2 separate regions of the Homo sapiens genome follow, and region 1 is linked to region 2. The links are contacts of gene promoters, found by promoter capture Hi-C in human tissues and cell types (Jung and others, 2019). All regions are on one chromosome and are shown on one strand. The core of a region is centred on a gene start or on the middle of the fragment in contact, and the rest is flanking DNA. Distances in the headings are between cores, read along the strand shown. Region 1 has its middle 11 kb from the start of CYP1A1. Region 2 holds the start of EDC3 (enhancer of mRNA decapping 3).

What was found. Contacts are between HindIII fragments. The study calls those that stand out against the background at their distance.
Region 1: a contact is called between a fragment that was not itself captured here and the fragment with the promoter of EDC3 in region 2, in 5 of the 25 tissues and cell types used here (heart right ventricle, lymphoblastoid cells, mesenchymal stem cells and 2 more).

Annotation. Positions count from the first base shown.
Region 1 is chr15:74,734,321-74,738,940 of GRCh38, forward strand. No RefSeq gene overlaps it. Among named protein-coding and RNA genes, the nearest start is that of CYP1A1, 11 kb to the left of the region's middle. The HindIII fragment of the contact is 3,761 bases long and covers 768-4,528 here.
Region 2 is chr15:74,692,836-74,697,842 of GRCh38, forward strand. It overlaps EDC3 (enhancer of mRNA decapping 3), which reads right to left and starts at 3,189. Exons shown (of 7, transcript NM_025083.5): 1 at 3,045-3,189. RefSeq lists an enhancer at 3,149-3,238. The HindIII fragment of the contact is 33,216 bases long and covers 1-5,007 here.

The DNA.
Region 1 (4,620 bases), core at 1,398-3,897, 41 kb after region 2:
TGCCTTCTGGGATGATTGTAAGGTTCCTGAGGCCCGCACCGGAAGCAGATGCTGCATCCATGCTGGTACTGCCTCCAGAACCATGAGCCAATTACACCTCTTTTCTTTATCAATTACCCAGTCTCAGGTATTCCTTACCTTCCTTGGCCATCCCACCTAAAACTGTTACCCTGACTCATAGTTTCTATCCTTCTCTCTACTTAATTTTATAGCACTTAGAGACTCCAAACATACTGTATATTTTGCGTATTTATGTTGCAGATAGGCTATATCCCTCAACTAAAATGTAAGCTCCAACAGAGCAGGCACTTTGATCTCTTGTGATCAATGCTTCACGAATAGCATCTAGCACATAGCAGATGCTAAATAGATAGTTGTTAAATAATTGAATTTAAGCGTGGCAGGCCCCCAAGTGGGAAAATACACGAGATTTGAAGTGGCAGAGGCCTTGTGTGAGAGTCTGGTTCCTGGTAGGCAGGGCACCAAGTCCAAGACAGTCAGCTGAATGGATCCCCTCAGCTCAGATGCTTTTTTAATGCCTGCTAGATGGGCGTTAATCATTTTGCTCCCAGGAGATAGGTGATCAGGTACACTCCTGCCTTAAGAAGTTCATCTTGGTCTGGCCTAGCTTAGCATCCTGCCTTGTGCCAGCTTCACTCTATCCAAGACCAACATCTGGGCTGGGTCTCACTGCCAACCACATGGCCATGATCCTCAGACTTTCCCAACCTCCTCCAATTTTAAAGTCTCCAGGTTCCTCCCAACAGGATGGCTTCTCTCTACACACCCCAGATACACCACAGTAATCAGGGGAGATCAGGCTCTGCAGCTGCTCTCAGCAGGATTGGGACAAAAATCCTCCATGTTTTGGTGGGTGGGGAAGGGCTATGAAGATCCAGCCTCCGGGATGCTGCCCAGAGAAAGCTGGGGAGCAGGTGGCCCAGAGCTTCTGGACTGACCCTAGATGGAGGGCAGTGGAGATGAAAGGAGATCTTCTTTTTCCTTTCTCTTCTGCCTTTAATAACATCAAATATGATTAATTTAGGTCCATATTATAGATGAGAATTTGACTAATTCTTCTCAGGTTAGCAGTTTATTATTGCACAAATGTTTCCCAAGCCAATGAATTATGAAATAAGCCTTGCAGGGGAATGTTTGAGCTACTGAAGGGCATGTTCGGCATGATCAGAGGAACACTCTGTTTCCAAGTTAGTAATGCCTCTTTACATATAAACACTGATGTTTGTTGATAATGAACATTCATGTCCTCAATCAAAGCAGAGCCTCTGGGGACACTTCTCTATCAGCCAAGTGCTCCTAGAAGTGTTCCGCCCTGGTTAGAATGTGCGCCCCAATTTTCATGTGTTGGAAACATAATCCCAAAATTCATATGTTGATTAAAGGTAGTGAGGGCTTTGGGAAGTAATTAAGATTAGATAAGGTCATCAAGGTGGTACTCCCATGATGAGACTGGAGGCTTTATAAGAAGAGGAAGAGAGACCTGAGCTGACACCACACTCTTGCCCTCTTACCATGTAATGTCCCCCTCTGTGTTTTGGTGTTTTGGCTTGTTTTGTTTGTTTGTTTGTTTGTTTTTGAGATTGAGCCTCACTCTGTCACTCAGGCTGGAGTGCAATGGTGTGATCTCGGCTCACTACAACCACCACCTCCCAGGTTCAAGTGATTCTCTTGCCTCAGCCTCCCAAATAGCTGGGATTACAGGCATGCACCACCACACCCGGCTAATTTTTGCATTTATTCAGTAGAGACGGGGATTTCACCATATTGGCCAGGCTGGTCTGGAACTCCTGATCTCAAGTAATCCACCTACCTCAACCTCCCAAAGTGCTGGGATTACAGGTGTGAGCCACCACGCCTGACCTAGTCAGTGGTATCCTGTTATAGCAACCGAGAACAGACTGAGACATACATGCTCCCATGGTCTTTGCCAAGGAGGTAGCCTATTCAGATCCACTGGGGTGTCCAGCCAGTGAGGGCCACTCAGCCAACTTACGAATCCTTTTCCAACTCAACTGCTCCATCACTTGTAGACACCCAATAGCCCTTCCTCCCAATCTTGATTTTTCCTCCTTAGCACTCACCGCTCTTGTTTTGTCTAGGAACCCTCCATCTTCCTTTCTAGAACTATGTGCTTTAGGGGAAGCTGACCCCAGCCCCAGCCTCACAGAGTGGGTCTTGGCTGATCTGAACCAGTCATTGTTGCCCTGGCTGTCTTGCTGGTGATTTAATTAAACATAGATCTGTGACATGATTCTGGCCAATGATATGGGAAAAAATCTGCTGGGACAACTTTTAGGAGAAGCTTTCTTCACTCTTCAAAGAGACACATGAGAATGAAACTAGACCCCTGTCTCTCACCATATACATAAATCAAAACCAAAATGGATTAAAGGCTTCAATCTAAGACCACAAACTATGAAATTACTAAAAGGAAGCATTGGGAAAACTCTCCAGGACTGGACAAAAATTCCTCTTTTCTTTTTTTCTTTCTTTTTTTTTTTTTTTTTTTTTTTTGTAGAGGCACAGTCTCAACTATGCTACCCAGGCTGGTCTCAAACTTCTGGGCTCAAGCTATCCTCCTGCCTAGGTCTCACAAAGTGCTGGAAATCATAGGCATGAGCCACCTTGCCTGGCCCGGACAAAGATGTCTTGAGTGATATCTTACAAGTACAGGCTGAAGCAAAAATGGACAAATGAGATCTCATCAAGTTAAAAGGCTTCTGCACAGCAAAGGAAACAATCAACAAAGTGAAGAGACAATCCACAGAATGGGAGAAAATATTTGCAAACTACCCATCTGACATGGGATTAATAACTGGAATATATAAGGAGCTCAAACAACTCAACAGGAAAAAGTCTAATAATCTGGCTTTTAAATTTAATCTGGCAAAAGATCTGAATAGACATTTCTCAAAAGAAGAAATACAAATGGCAAGCAAGTATATGAAAAGGTGCTTAACATCATTGATCAGAGAAATGCAAATCAAAACTACAATGAGATATCCTCTCACCAGTTAAGATGGCTTTTGTCCAAAAGACAGGCAATGACAAATGCTGGAGAGGATGTGGAGGAAAGGGGACCTTCGTACACTGTTGAAAATGTAAATCAGTGTAAACACTACAAAGAACAGTTTGGAGGTTCCTCAATAAACTAAAAATAGAGCTACCATACGATCCAGCAATCCCACTGTTACGTATACACCCAAAGAAAGGAAATCAGTATGTCAAAGAGATATTTGCACTCCCATGTTGACTGCGGCATTGTTCACAAAAGTTAAGATTTGGAAGCAACCTAAGTGTCCACCAACAGATGAATAGGTAAAGAAAATATAGTGCATATACACAATGGAGTGCTATTCAGCTGTAAAAAGAATGAGATCCGGCCGGGCGCAGTGGCTCACGCCAGTAATCCCAGCACTTTGGAAGGCGTAGGAGGGCGGATCATGAGGTCAGGAGATAGAGACCATCCTGGCTAACACGGTGAAACCCCGTCTCTACTAAAAATACAGAATATTAGCCGGGCATGGTGGCGGGCACCTGTAGTCCCAGCTACTCAGGAGGCTGAGGCAGAAGAATGGCGTGAACCCGGGAGGCGGAGCTTGCAGTGAGCCGAGACCACACCACTGCACTCCAGCCTGGGCGACAGAGCGAGACTCCGTCTCAAAAAAAAAAAAAAAAAACCAATGAGATCCTGTCATTTGCAGCAACACGGATGGAACTGGAGGTCATTATGTTGAGTCAAATAAGCCAGGCACGGGGAGACAAACTTCACATGTTCTCACTTATTTGAGAGCTGAAAATTAAAACAGTTGAACTCATGGAGATAGGAGAATGATGGTTACTAGAGGCTGGGAAGGGTAGTGGGAGCAGGGAGGGAGTAGGGATGATTAATGGGTACAAAATATAGTTAGAAAGAATGAATAAGATCTAGTATTTGATGGCACAACAAGATGGCTACAGTCAATGTATTAGTCCGTTTTCACTGTTGATAAAGACATAGCCGAGACTGGGCAATTTACAAAAGAAAGAGGTTTAATGGACTTACAGTTCCGCGTGGGTGGGGAGGCCTCACAATCATGGCAGAAGATGAAAGGCACATCTCACATGGTGGCAGACAAGAGAAGACAGCTTGTGCAGGGAAATTCCCCTTTTTAAAACCACCAGATCTCATGAGACTTATTCACTATCACGAGAACAGCACAGGAAACACCTGCCCCCATGATTCAATTACCTCCCACTGGGTCCCTCCCACAGCATGTGGGAATTCAAGATGAGATTTAAGTGGGGACACAGCCAAACCATATTAGTCAATGAAAATTTATTGTACATTATTAAATAACTGAAAGAATAGATGTCTGTAACACAAAGGAAGGATAAATGTTTGAGATGATGGATACCTCATTTAACCCGATGTGGTTATTACACATTGTATGCCTGTATCAAAATATTTAATGTGCCCCATAAACATATACACCTACTATGTACCCACAAAAATTAAAAATTAAAATTAGGCTGGACACGGTGGCTCACGCCTGTAATCCCAGCACTTTGGGAGGCCCAGGTGGGGTTATCACTTGAGGTCAGGAGGTCAAGACCAGC
Region 2 (5,007 bases), core at 1,939-4,438:
ATTTACTTGTCAGAAATTACATCCTAAACTATTTAAAATTAAATACTTACACTATGTAAATCTAGGATGAAAAGTTTCAGGTGCCAACTTAAAAGTATATAAGATCTAACAGATTCCACAGTCTTTTAGACATTCTCAAGAAGAAATGTTTTAAGACTAGTGACCCAGCCTATACCTGAAAGCCTGAAATGACAAGGAGAAAAATAATCATTCATGCCAAAGCAACACCACCATATCTTCAAACTTTTGACTTCTGCCCATAAATTTACTCTTAGCACATCTAGATCTAAACCTAATATTCCAGGTACAAGCCTACCAGTGATGCAACCTTTCTCATTCTAGATTTTGCATTTTCCTGATACAATATACTAATGCAGGTCACATCGGTTCTTCTCACAGCCTTCTTAACCACACCACTGATTGGTGATTAAAACATCACATCTTTTTATTATAGAACTCCTGTGAGGTCACATCTCCACCCTCCCCTAATAGGTATAGTTGATTTTGTTTGGACCCAAGCGCAATTTCTCACATTTATACATGCTTCCTTCATTTCATTAAACAGCACTGAGCAAATTATATTGAGATCTTTTCCCATTCTGGCAATCACCAACCAAATGACTCTTTCTTTACTTCACAAAGGCACCAAATCCAATAAGCAAACCTTCTAGATAAGGTCTCAAATACATGAAGTATATAAAGAAAGTGATGAAACCCCAGTTTAGATCACCGGAATTCCAGCTGTAAGTAGTGTCCACAAATCAAACCTCTCCATACATAGATTTTCAAACTCATGACTCCATCTAACTACCACAATCTGGCAAATTCCTCCATCTCGCCCACTCAGTTATAGTAAGACTCAGTAAGACCAGGCGCGGTGGCTCACACCTGTAATCCCAGCACTTTGGGAGGCTGAGGTGAGTGGATCACCTGAGGTCGGGAGTTCGAGACCAGCCCGGCCAACATGGTGAAACCCCATCTCTACTGAAAATACAAAAATTAGCCAGGCGTGGTGGTGCATGCTTGTAGTCCCAGGTACTTGGGAGGCTGAGGCAGGAGAATCGCTTGAACCAGGAGGCAGAGGTTACAGTGAGCAGAAATTGCACCACTGCACTCCGTCCAACCTGGGCAATGGAGTGAGACTCCATCTCAAAAAAAAAAACAAAAACTTCATAAATGCCTTGCTAAAATTCTGACACACTATCATTATGGTCACTACACTCCTTTGAGCCACAATTTGGATGTCCTGTCCTGTTGTTCTGGCTGAATTTAGGAGAACTCTAGTAAGCCCTTCTCTGGATAAGAAAAGAAAAATGATACATCTTCCATTTTGTATTAATTACAGAATCTCACAAATGGCAAGGATTTTAAACATTTTCTAATGTTGTTTTTCTTAGACAGAGTCTTGCTATGTTGCCCAGGCTGGCCTTAAGCAATCCTCCCACCACTGCACTCGGCCCTAGTCTAATATTTTTCTTTTCTTTTCTTTTTTTGAGAAGTTTAGTTCTTGTTGCCCAGGCTGGAGTGCAGTAGCATATCTTGGCTCACTGCAACCTCTCCCTCCCAGGTTCAAGCGTTTCTCCTGCCTCAGCCTCCCAAATAGCTGGGATTATAGGCACCCACCACCACCCAGCTAAGTTTTGTATTTTTAGTACATACGGGGTTTCACCACGTTGCCCAGACTGGTCTCCAACTCCTGACCTCAGGTGATCCACCCGCCTCAGCATCCCAAAGTGCTGGGATTACTGGCGTGAGCCACAGTGCCCGGCCTTAATATTTTTCAAACTATACGTCATGACCTATTAGGGGTCAGACTCAATTTAGTGAGTTGCAACCAATATTTTTTTAGAGTGCATCTTCTGTAGAAAGGGTAAGTAAACTTTTCATTGGTGTGTGTGTGTGTGTACACACTGAGTGTGCAGGGGCACAATAAGTCATGATGTATAATATATCTAACTGTGGGTCACAGGTAAAAAATTTTGAGACACTTTTCTAGCCCCACAGCCCTATGCCAAGGAGGCTCTACCAAGAAATTGGTAATAAACAAAATGTCATGTTTTTACATCATACAGAGAAACTAGCTAAGAGGATTTTGTGCTCAGTACACGTAATCTGCCATTCATTAAAAAAAAAAAAAAAGATTAGGATCCATCTGGGTGTCCAGTTGAAATACTAAACTGCTTGGAGACAGCCATTTCTGTTTTGGTGGGGTGAAGACCTGTATTTGAGACAGCAGACTGAAATCGGTTTGGTCTGTGGCGAAGGAAGAGAAGAAAAACCATTCTGGGTCGCGAGTTCCTCACCTGTAACCACAGGAGAAGACTGTTGGCTTGGTCAGTTGATTTTCAACTAATCTCCCAATTGAAGAGTTAGGCGAAGCAATTGCTATTGGGAGATTAACTGAAAATTAACTGACCAAGCCAACAAGGACTATGCCTCCCACAAACCAAAACACTTTAACCACTCAGCAAGTCAAGTATTGATACATACAATCAATATCACACAAAGTGTACTGAAAAGAACCACAGACTTGCATCAAAGGCAGAAATGAATCCAGGGATAACTTCCTGGGATTCGAAGATGTGACCTGGTAGGTATAAATTTCTCAGGCATCCTCTTTTTCTACCCTCCAGTTCATCTCCGTCCTCAAGCTATCAGTCATGGATGTGGCACTGGCGTTCTTCTCTGCCACCGTATCTCATTATGCAAAGGGAAACTGAGGCACGAAGAACAGAGTGAGTGAGCCAAAGAACTGCAGCAGCCACCAACAAGGCTGGACTAAGGGCCCAAGCAGCTAATGCCTCACTCCCCACACAATCCCCATACTATTTAGAATCCTGCAGTCCTCAGCCTTCCACCTCAAACCAAACTCCTGGGGCCGCCCGTAGTACGTGGTCCCCTGCTCATCCGATGAAGCCCCCAGCTCTTGCCTGCCTGCCTGCCTCTATAAAGGTCTACGAGGCCTGGAACTCTGAAGCCTAAAGCAACCCCGGCAGCCCCCTCCCACGACCGTCCACAAACCAGTAGCCTCCCTTCGCTCCCACCTCCGCGCCGACGGGCCTGGAGCTCCTCCGCACACCACACCAAGCCGACCACTCAACACCAGAGGACCCACAGAAGAATTCTCTCCACGCCCACCCCCACAGCATCGGCCTTCACCACCGCCGCCGCTGCCGGAAGCGCCCCCACGTCTCCACGCCACCACCGTGAGGTCACTTCCGGCGCGACACCTTGGAATCCAGGGCCGTCAATTGAGGGGCGTGGCACCCGGGAAATTTAAGAGGTTGGAAGAACGTCCCTTCGGCCTTACAGAATTGCGCTTGGGTAGTCATTTTGCCCTCCACGCTTACTTATGTCCTGTGGCGTCTTGGCTGGAATCGGGGCTCTACCCACGACTCCCCAGCCTCGATGCCTGGGCCCCCCTCTTGCAGGCTCGATGAAAAGCACCCGCTTCCCCTCCTGTTACCCCAGCGCCAATCGCAGAGCTGGAGCGGAGGACTTTCAGGGAGGCCTGGTGACGTGACAGCCCCTCCGTGCTAAACTGCAGCTGTGGGACTTAATAAGTGCGACAACCCCCTGATGGATTAAAGAAAACAAGATATTCCTGCCGTGGTCGATCTTCAAAGCGTATCAGCTTCAGCCCTTTTGGGGGTTAAAATCAGCCAGTCCGTGCTTGACTGCTCTCCCTTCCCCCATACTCAGTACACAGGAAAGTGCCGCTCTTCTACCCCTGGCATTTTAGAGTCTTGATTTGTGGGGAGACGGGAAAGCATGCGTTTAGGGCCAAGACCGTGTAATGAGGAATATTGCACAGCCTTGAAGCCTGACACCTGGTTTGGGAACCACTACTTGGGCGAATAGCATAGAGTAGGGTAGCAGTTCCAAACCTAGCTCTACAAAATCAGTTGAAGAACTTTGTAAAATCTACACTTTCTAGGGGACTGCTTCACCCTTCCCCCTCCATCACCAGAGATTCCCTAGGTCAGAAGGGGTCCTTGTCTTTTAAAATTACTGTTATTAATGAACACTTATAGAGCAGTTTTTGGTTCAGGGCAAAACTGAACAGAAAGTACAGAGTTCCCATATATCCCCTGTACACACAGGCACATACACAACTTGTCCCCTCATGGACATCTTGTGCTACAGTGGTACATTTGGTAACAATTGATTACCCAACTTTGACACATCATTATCACCCAGAGTCCATAGTTTACATTAGAGTTTACTCTCGGTGTTGCACATTCTGTGGGTTTTGACATATATGTAATGACATGTATCCACCATTATGGTATCATACACGATAGTTTCACTGCCCTGAAAATCCTCTGTCCTCTGCCTATTTATCCTTCTCAGTCCCCTAACCACTGGCAACCACTGCTCCTTTTACTGTCTCCATAGTTTTGCCTTTTCCAGAATCCCATATAGTTGGAATCATACAGTATGCAGCCTTTTCACATCGGATTCTTTCACTTATGCACTTAAAGTTCTTCCATGTCTTTTCATGGCTTGATAGCTCATTTCTTTTTTGTGCTGAATAATAATATTCCATCGTCTGGATGTGCTGCGGTTTATCCATTCACCTACTGAAAGACATCTTGGTGGCCTCCAAGTTTGGGTAATTATGAATAAAGCCGCTATACATCATGTGCAGATTTTTGTGTAGACATGAGTTTTCAATTCATCTGGGTAAATACCAAGGAGTGCAACTGCTGGATTGGATGGTATATTTAGTTTTGGGAGAAACTACCAAACTGCCTTTCAAAGTGGCTGCATCATTTTGCATTCCCACAGCAGTGAATGAGGGTTTCTGTTGCTCCACATCCTTGTCAGCGTTTTGTGGTGTCAGTATTTTGCCGTTCAAGTAAGTGTGTAGTAGTATCTTATTGTTTTAATATGCAATTCCCTAATGACATATGATATTGAACATCTTTTCATATACTTACTTGCCATGTGTATATCTTCTTTGATGAAGTGTTCATTCAGGTATTTTGCCCATTTTTACATTGT